Regions from separate parts of the Homo sapiens genome. Here region 1 is linked to region 2. Evidence: promoter capture Hi-C in 16 types of primary human blood cells and fetal thymus (Javierre and others, 2016). All regions are on one chromosome and are shown on one strand. The core of a region is centred on a gene start or on the middle of the fragment in contact, and the rest is flanking DNA. Distances in the headings are between cores, read along the strand shown. Region 1 holds the start of ALDH1L2 (aldehyde dehydrogenase 1 family member L2). Region 2 holds the start of HCFC2 (host cell factor C2).

Region 1 (3,320 bases), core at 450-2,949, 1.0 Mb before region 2:
ATGGTCTCGATCTCCTGACCTCGTGATCCGCCCACCTCGGCCTCCCAAAGTGCTGGGATTACAGGCGTGAGCCACCGCGCCCAACCGCAATTCTCCAAGTTTTAATGATGGTTCTTTTTTGTCTCCTTACTCTCTTAAACACATTCATCCGTTTCAACAAGTTTTTTTTTAACAAGTTATTTTTTATTTTATTATTATTTTTTTAAAGCTCTGGTTAGTGCTAGATACTGTAAATCCTGATTAATCAGACATGGACTTAGCTTGCAAGGAGCTTCCAACAGAGACGTTAATAGGTATACAAATACCAGTAGCAGATTGAGACAGCCATAACAGATGCATAGACAAAGATTATTTCCTGTTAAGAGGAGTGAACAATTATTTATGGGGAATAAGGAGACTAAGAGAGAAAAGAATCAGAAAAAAGCGCCTCCAGGAGGCAGCATGTAAGCGGTACCTTTCAGAAAAGAAACGGTCGTGCCAAGATAATTACAAGTGACAGATGACAAGCTTTTCTGGGAAACATTGTCCAAGAAGGAATAGGCAAGAACTGCAGTCAAGCAGAATTACATATGCAAAAGAGCAGTGAGAAATAAGAGAAAATGGCAAATTGCAGACGGCCCTGAATGCTGGGCTAAGAAGTCTGGCTTGAGATAAACGTCCAGCTAAAGCAGGTCTGAGCGTTTTTTCCAGAGAGGTGAGGGAGAAGGGCACGTATCTATTAGGTTGATGCAAAAGTAATTGCGGGTTTGCCATTATTTTCAGTGGCAAAAACCACAATTACTTTTGCACCAATTTATTTATTTATTTTTAAGACAGAGTCTCGCTCTGTTGTCCAGGCTGAAGTGCAGTGGCATGATCTCAGCTCCACTGCAACCTCCGCCTCCCCGGCTCAAGTGATCCTCGTGCTTCAGCCTCCCGAGTAGCTGGGACTGCAGGCATGCGACATCACGCCCGGCTAATTATTTTATTATTTTATTATTTTTTATTTTTAGTAGAGACGGGGTTTCACCATGGTGGCCAGGCTGGTCTCGAACTCCTGAGCTCAGGCCATCTTCCCTCCTCGGCCTCCCAAAGTGCTGGGATTACAGGCGGGAGCCACCGCGCCCGGCCTACCGTCCTACGAGGTAGGCATCAGGATCCCTCCACAGCGAAGGCGCCCCCACTACCTATCTGTCTACAGGCGTGCCTTTTACGGGCTGTGCTATGGACAGCACTTGGGATGTCAGATTGACCACTAATAAGGTAGATCCGTATACACTGCTGCGGGGCTGAGTAACTGGTAGAGGGTCCCACAGTTAGAAAGCACCTGGACCTTGGCTGGAATTGGCGGAAAGTCCAGGCAGCGGAGAGGCGCGGTCCCTGGGACTGGGTGCGCTCTTGGCACCAGGGTCAGGGCCCACAGGCTCCAGGAAGCCCACGCGCTCCGCCGGGTCGCACCAGGTTGGCTGTCCGAACGCAGCCAGCTGGCGGGGCGGGGCCTTCCAGCTGGGGGCGGGGTCTTGACAGCTAGGGGGCGGGGCCTTGCAGCTGGTAGGGTGGGGCGGGCCGCGGGCTGTGGGCTTTGGGAGGGGTGCGGACTAGCAGAGGCCGAGAGCGGCGAGCCGCGAGCCAGGCAGTCCGGGGCATCCAGACTGCAGGCCGCGCCCAGGCCGCGCCCAGGCTGCGCCGCCCGCCTGCCTCCCGCGCTGCCGCGTCGCCAGTGCTAGCGCTCCTCTCCAGCATGCTGCGGCGGGGCAGCCAGGCGCTCCGGCGCTTCTCCACTGGCCGGGTGAGTCCGGCCCGGGCGAGCGTCCCGGCTGTCACCCTGTCCTGGTTTCCAGACTCCGGGGCGGGAGGGCCGGGGCGGTGGGGCTGGGGATGAGCAGCGATGCTTAGACTTTGCTAAACACCAAGACAGCGTTTAAAACAAACAAACAAACAAACAAAAACAGAGAGACCTCAGAGGAGGGCTTGGGGAGGGTCCCGGATGGGAACTGGCACGCAGGCCATTGTCTTCTGCCGGGAGGGGGCTGAGGATGCAGTTTTTGGACGTGTCAAGTCTGGCTGGGATGGCAAGGTGGGAACAGTCACTTGGTAAGGAGGACAGAGTCTGCTTCCTTTCCTTTTTCACTTCAATCATGAGATCCCTGGTCAAGAGCTGGAGCCATATGGAACCGAGACTGTCTCCTGGAGGAGGGGAGTATCAAGTCAATAGGGTCCTCGTTGGCGGCCTGGGAGGTGTAAGCGCTCGAGACTGGCACGCAGGGCCGGTTCAGATAATGGCACTCAAAGCTGATGGCTGCAAGCTCAGTATTCCTGAGCTGAGCTGCAGATGGCAAAATTTCTAGAATTGCCAGGCGCTGCAGAGGCAGCCACGCTGGAACACTATTCTACTGTAGCACAAGAACCGAGCTCTGGCCCAGCCCCGCGCCTTGGAATTGCATCAGCTCCTCCAGAAATGGAACCGAGAGAGGACACGTTGCACTGCGGTGCTGCCTTCAGCACCCAGGGGGCCTCGGGACTGTTTAGGGAAGAGAGAGAGAGAAAAAAAAAAAATAAAAACTGTCTTATGTATCGTATCTTTTATAGGAAGTACATAAAAGAATTTGCTTATCGATTCTTTTTCTCGGCCATGCCAAAGCCATATGTACATATGTATATATTCAGATGTAAAAAACTTGGAGGCAGAGAGAAGTCTTGAGTAGCACCAAAAACTGGCCCAAACTTGCATCAAAGGAAAAGCTTTCTGTATCCCAGACAACCCCAAATAATAAGAATTCGTTTTACTCTTTGCAACCAGTTCTAGTTACTTTGAGGTATAGTCACCTTTTATAAAACGAGGGGTGGGGGTGGGGAAGACCTGCTCTGCTAGGACTTTGGCCTGCTCTCCTGGACCCCTCATTAGCTTCCCCCACCACGTGGCACATGGGATCCCAGATGGATAGCACAGAAAGCAACGGGCTGTGCCCAATGCCTGAGCCTGTTTTGTTGGCCTCCTCTGTCAACACCTTTCACTGACTTGTCTTTTTTGGTGACCAGAAGGAAGTCTTGCAGAATGAAAAGATTTTGATAGTGCGGTTTGCATAAGATTTCAGTAATAAAAGGTAAACATCTCAGGTGGCAAATGGCATAAACAAAACTATGGATGTGGGGAAGAACTGGCGTGATCAGGGTCTAACTGTACGCAGGGGTGCATATGGAAAAGCAGTGATACTCATGGCTGGGAAGAAGACAGTTTCCTCAGTGGTCGAAAGGAAGCTACTGAGTGGTGAATGAAAAATGTGGGATGTTTTATCCTGTAGAAAATGTTCTGGACTGTGTTTTATAAGAATTATTCAAAA
Region 2 (3,437 bases), core at 809-3,308:
TTGATGTTATAAATGTTGCACTGGGTATGGGAAAAAGACTTGCCAGGAAACTTTGGGTTTTAAGTGAAGTGGAAACATTTTCTATAAAGCTATAAAATGTGAAGTTTACATTACTTGAATAATATTACTTGAATAATAGTTTACTTGAATAATACATTACTTGAATAATATTAAAATGTGTTAAACAATGTTAGTAATGTTGCAATCTTTTGAAAAATTATGAACAATATCATTATTAAAGCCTCAGAATGAAACAATATTAAATACACTTACTTGTAACTCATATAACTCATTGCTGTATCTTCCATATTCAACCATTCCCCCAAATACTAATATTCTGGTACCATCACAGACAAATCCATGGGCAGCACAGCCTGGAGGGATATCTCCTCTAACAGCTGGCAGAAACCACTGATTCGTAGCTAGTTGCCAAAATAAAATGAAAACCGATTATAACAAACAACGGTTATCATATACTATCAGCAAATATATATCATCAATATCAGTGGGTCTCAACTGGGGATGATTCTGCCCCCCAGAAGACATTTGGTAATGTCTGGTGACATTTTTAGTTGTCACAACTGGAGGGGGCTGTTACTGGCATCTAGTAGGTAGAGGCAGGGATGCTGCCAAACATCTTACAATGTACAGGGCAATACAGGGCAGCTTCCCCCAACCTCAACAAAGAATTACCTGGCCCAAAAGGTCGAGAGTGCTGCTGTTGAAAAACCCTGATCTGTATCATTTAATTCTTACAAAACGCCCTGCTGGGTGAGTATAAAAATCTCTATTTTACAACTGAAAATTGTGAGGCTTAAAAAGGTTTGGTAACTTTAGCGCTGATCCTGGGCAACCGGCAGAGCAAGATTCAAATCAGGTCTAATTTGTTCCAAAGCCAGGGATTTTACACTAAGACCAAAGTGTCAGTAACTTTTTACCTTCATATGCTGGGGCGCTGGGAGGAGGAGAGGGTGAAAAAAATAAAACTTCTCAGACTCCACTATTTTGTTAACCTTCAAATTATTCCTGTGATTAAGTTGTTTGATCAAAGAAAAGTTATCGGTCATGAAGTAGACCCAAAATTCCATCACTGTCTTTACACCAAACAGATTTCTTGTGACAGCCTGAGCATTTACAAGGGGAAAAAAAAATTAAATCCAGTTTCCTTTCTATTCCACAGAGGTCCTCAAAGATAGGGGCTCCCTGCCCAGGGGCACTTGTGATCTGCAGTGGTGCTCAAGTTATGACAGTCCTCTTTCCGAGGGCCAGTCCAGAAGGGCGTCCACACCGAGTATGCAGACACAAGGCCGCCTCACCACGTCCCCGCCGCTTTAGAGCGCGGCTCACGGAGGGGCTCTTGACCGTTACCTGCCAAACACCGGGTTGTATTTGAGGCGAGAGTGCCAGAAGGCCTCTCGTTTTCCCTCCTCACCCCCTAGATGGTCTTCCTCCTAAGGAAGGAAGGCAGGCAAAGACGGGAAAGGCCCTAAGGAACTTTGGTTTGGAGTGGGTTTTGTTTTTTGACAGAGGCGAGATTTCGGGGAGTGGCCCAGGCGGTTGGACATGGTCTTCTGTCGCCTGCGTCCGCCTGTCGGGCTGGGGTGGGGGCGTCCGGGATCCCCCGCCTGAAGGCCGGTGCGCCCCGCTCGGGGTCCGTTGCGCCCCAAGGGCCCCGGAGATCCTGAGCTGCGGTCCGGGACAGAGCTGCCGGACCCGGGCTGCCCGGCTGAGCCGCGCTCCCCGCCGCCCGCCCAAGGAAGCAGTGACCGGGCGGTGACAGCTGTCAGGGCCGCGGCCGCCGCCTCGCCTCCCCTCCCCCTCCGCAGCTCCAGCAGGCGGGGCCGACGAGCCGCCGCCGCGCCTACCCGTGTTGTAGACGTGCAGCTCATCCGCGATGCCCTCATTTCCCCCTCCAAAGATGATCATCAGCTCCCGGATGGCCACCGCTCGGTGTCCGTGCCGGGCGCGGGGGACCGGCCCCGTGAAGGAAGAAACTCGCCTCCAGTTGAGGAGGCTGGGAGCCGCCATCTTCCCAACCCCCGCCCCTCTGCCCACAATGCACCGCTCCCGCCTCAACCGGCTGCTCCCTGGGGAGGGCGGGGACCCGCCTCCAGCTGTGCTGGGGTCACGTGGCCGCGGGCGCCGGCGGCCAGGCTGGAGGCCCGCGGGCAGTGGAGAGACGCTGGGGAAGGGGGGTCCTGACAGGGGAGCCCCGCCCCCACCCCAGGCGACTTGGCCAGCGGCCACCCGGAGCAACGCACCTTAGGGTGGAAGGACGCTTCCCACTGACCACGTCTCCCATCCCCACCCAGAGCCTCCCGTTCGGTATTTTGGGAAGAAGCCACAGCATCTTCCTTTACGTCCACTTTAATTGAGCATCTAGGATGTGTGGGCGAGGCAGTCTCACAAGCAACGTGAGAGAAGCTCGGGTAGAGGTTCGAAGAGCTGGGAGCGCAGGGCGGGGACCTCGCACGGGAGGGTGCGGGCGGGAGCCTGCCTCGCGAGCCCGGGCCACGGCGGCTGCTCCCGACCGTGACTGGGACCCGGGCAGGGAAGGTCGCTACAAAGCCTGCCGGGCGAACCGAAGGCAGCTTTGTGCGGAGCCATGCCAGGAAGCTTGGGAACCGTGAGCCACAAGAGGTATTTTTGGTTTGTTTGGCTTAAGCAGAGGAGAGATGGTTTTCTAGGTTTCTGTTTCATTGCTAGCTAACAAGTGAGGGCTGTCCACAGCCTGGCATGCCCTAAGTGCCTCATGTGTATTAACTCATGTAATCCATCCAGCAATCCAGTGTGGTGGCTCCTGTTATCTCCCTTTCATGGACGGGGAAATGAGGCACAGTGCAGTAAGGTAATTTTCTGATGGACACAAAGGAGAGGTGTTGAAAAAAAAGACTGGGGCCAGGATTCCAACACAGGGCTTCTGATTCCAGAACCCCCAAGCCCTTATATCATATACCATACTGCCTCTGATAGCAGTCATATCCAACCATTATACCATACTGCCTCTGGTAGCAGTCATACGCAACTCTTTATTTTTATTTATTTATTTTAGATAGGGTCTGGCTCTGTTGCCGGAATGCAGTGGCGCGATCAGAGCTCACTGCAAGCTCGAGCTCCTGGGCTCCAGTGATCCTCCTGCCTTGGCCTCCCAAAGTGCTGGAACTACAGGCATGAGCCACCGCACCCAGCCAATGCAACACTTAATAAGGCCTAGCTGCCCTGTGATTTGGTCCTACACATAATCACACAAGTCCATTAGGAATAAAACTGCACTGCATATGGGATTCATGCCAAATGAGTAGATTTTAGCCACTCTTGCCACAGAGACACAAAAAGGGTTGGTGGTAACTATATGAGATGATGGATATGTTAATATGCTTCACTATAGTAACCTTGTGACTGCCTGTTTCAGCTGTCCCCAACCTTTTTGGCACTAG

The links. The method cuts DNA at HindIII sites, captures the fragments that hold promoters and counts their contacts. A CHiCAGO score of 5 or more calls a contact.
Region 1: the fragment with the promoter of ALDH1L2 here is called in contact with the fragment with the promoter of HCFC2 in region 2 in 8 of 17 cell types (monocytes, total B cells, activated CD4 T cells and 5 more); the score reaches 12.7 in monocytes.

What each region holds. Positions count from the first base shown.
Region 1 is chr12:105,082,837-105,086,156 of GRCh38, reverse strand. It overlaps ALDH1L2 (aldehyde dehydrogenase 1 family member L2), which reads left to right and starts at 1,699. Exons shown (of 23, transcript NM_001034173.4): 1 at 1,699-1,768. The coding sequence starts at 1,721. RefSeq lists a silencer at 1,392-1,821 and enhancers at 2,322-2,561, 2,056-2,856. The HindIII fragment of the contact is 2,214 bases long and covers 510-2,723 here.
Region 2 is chr12:104,063,152-104,066,588 of GRCh38, reverse strand. It overlaps HCFC2 (host cell factor C2), which reads right to left and starts at 2,058. Exons shown (of 15, transcript NM_013320.3): 1 at 1,866-2,058; 2 at 274-422. The coding sequence starts at 2,028. It also overlaps a transcript of GLT8D2 not described here. RefSeq lists silencers at 1,682-1,821, 2,042-2,211, 2,193-2,362, 2,372-2,531. The HindIII fragment of the contact is 6,452 bases long and covers 1-2,618 here.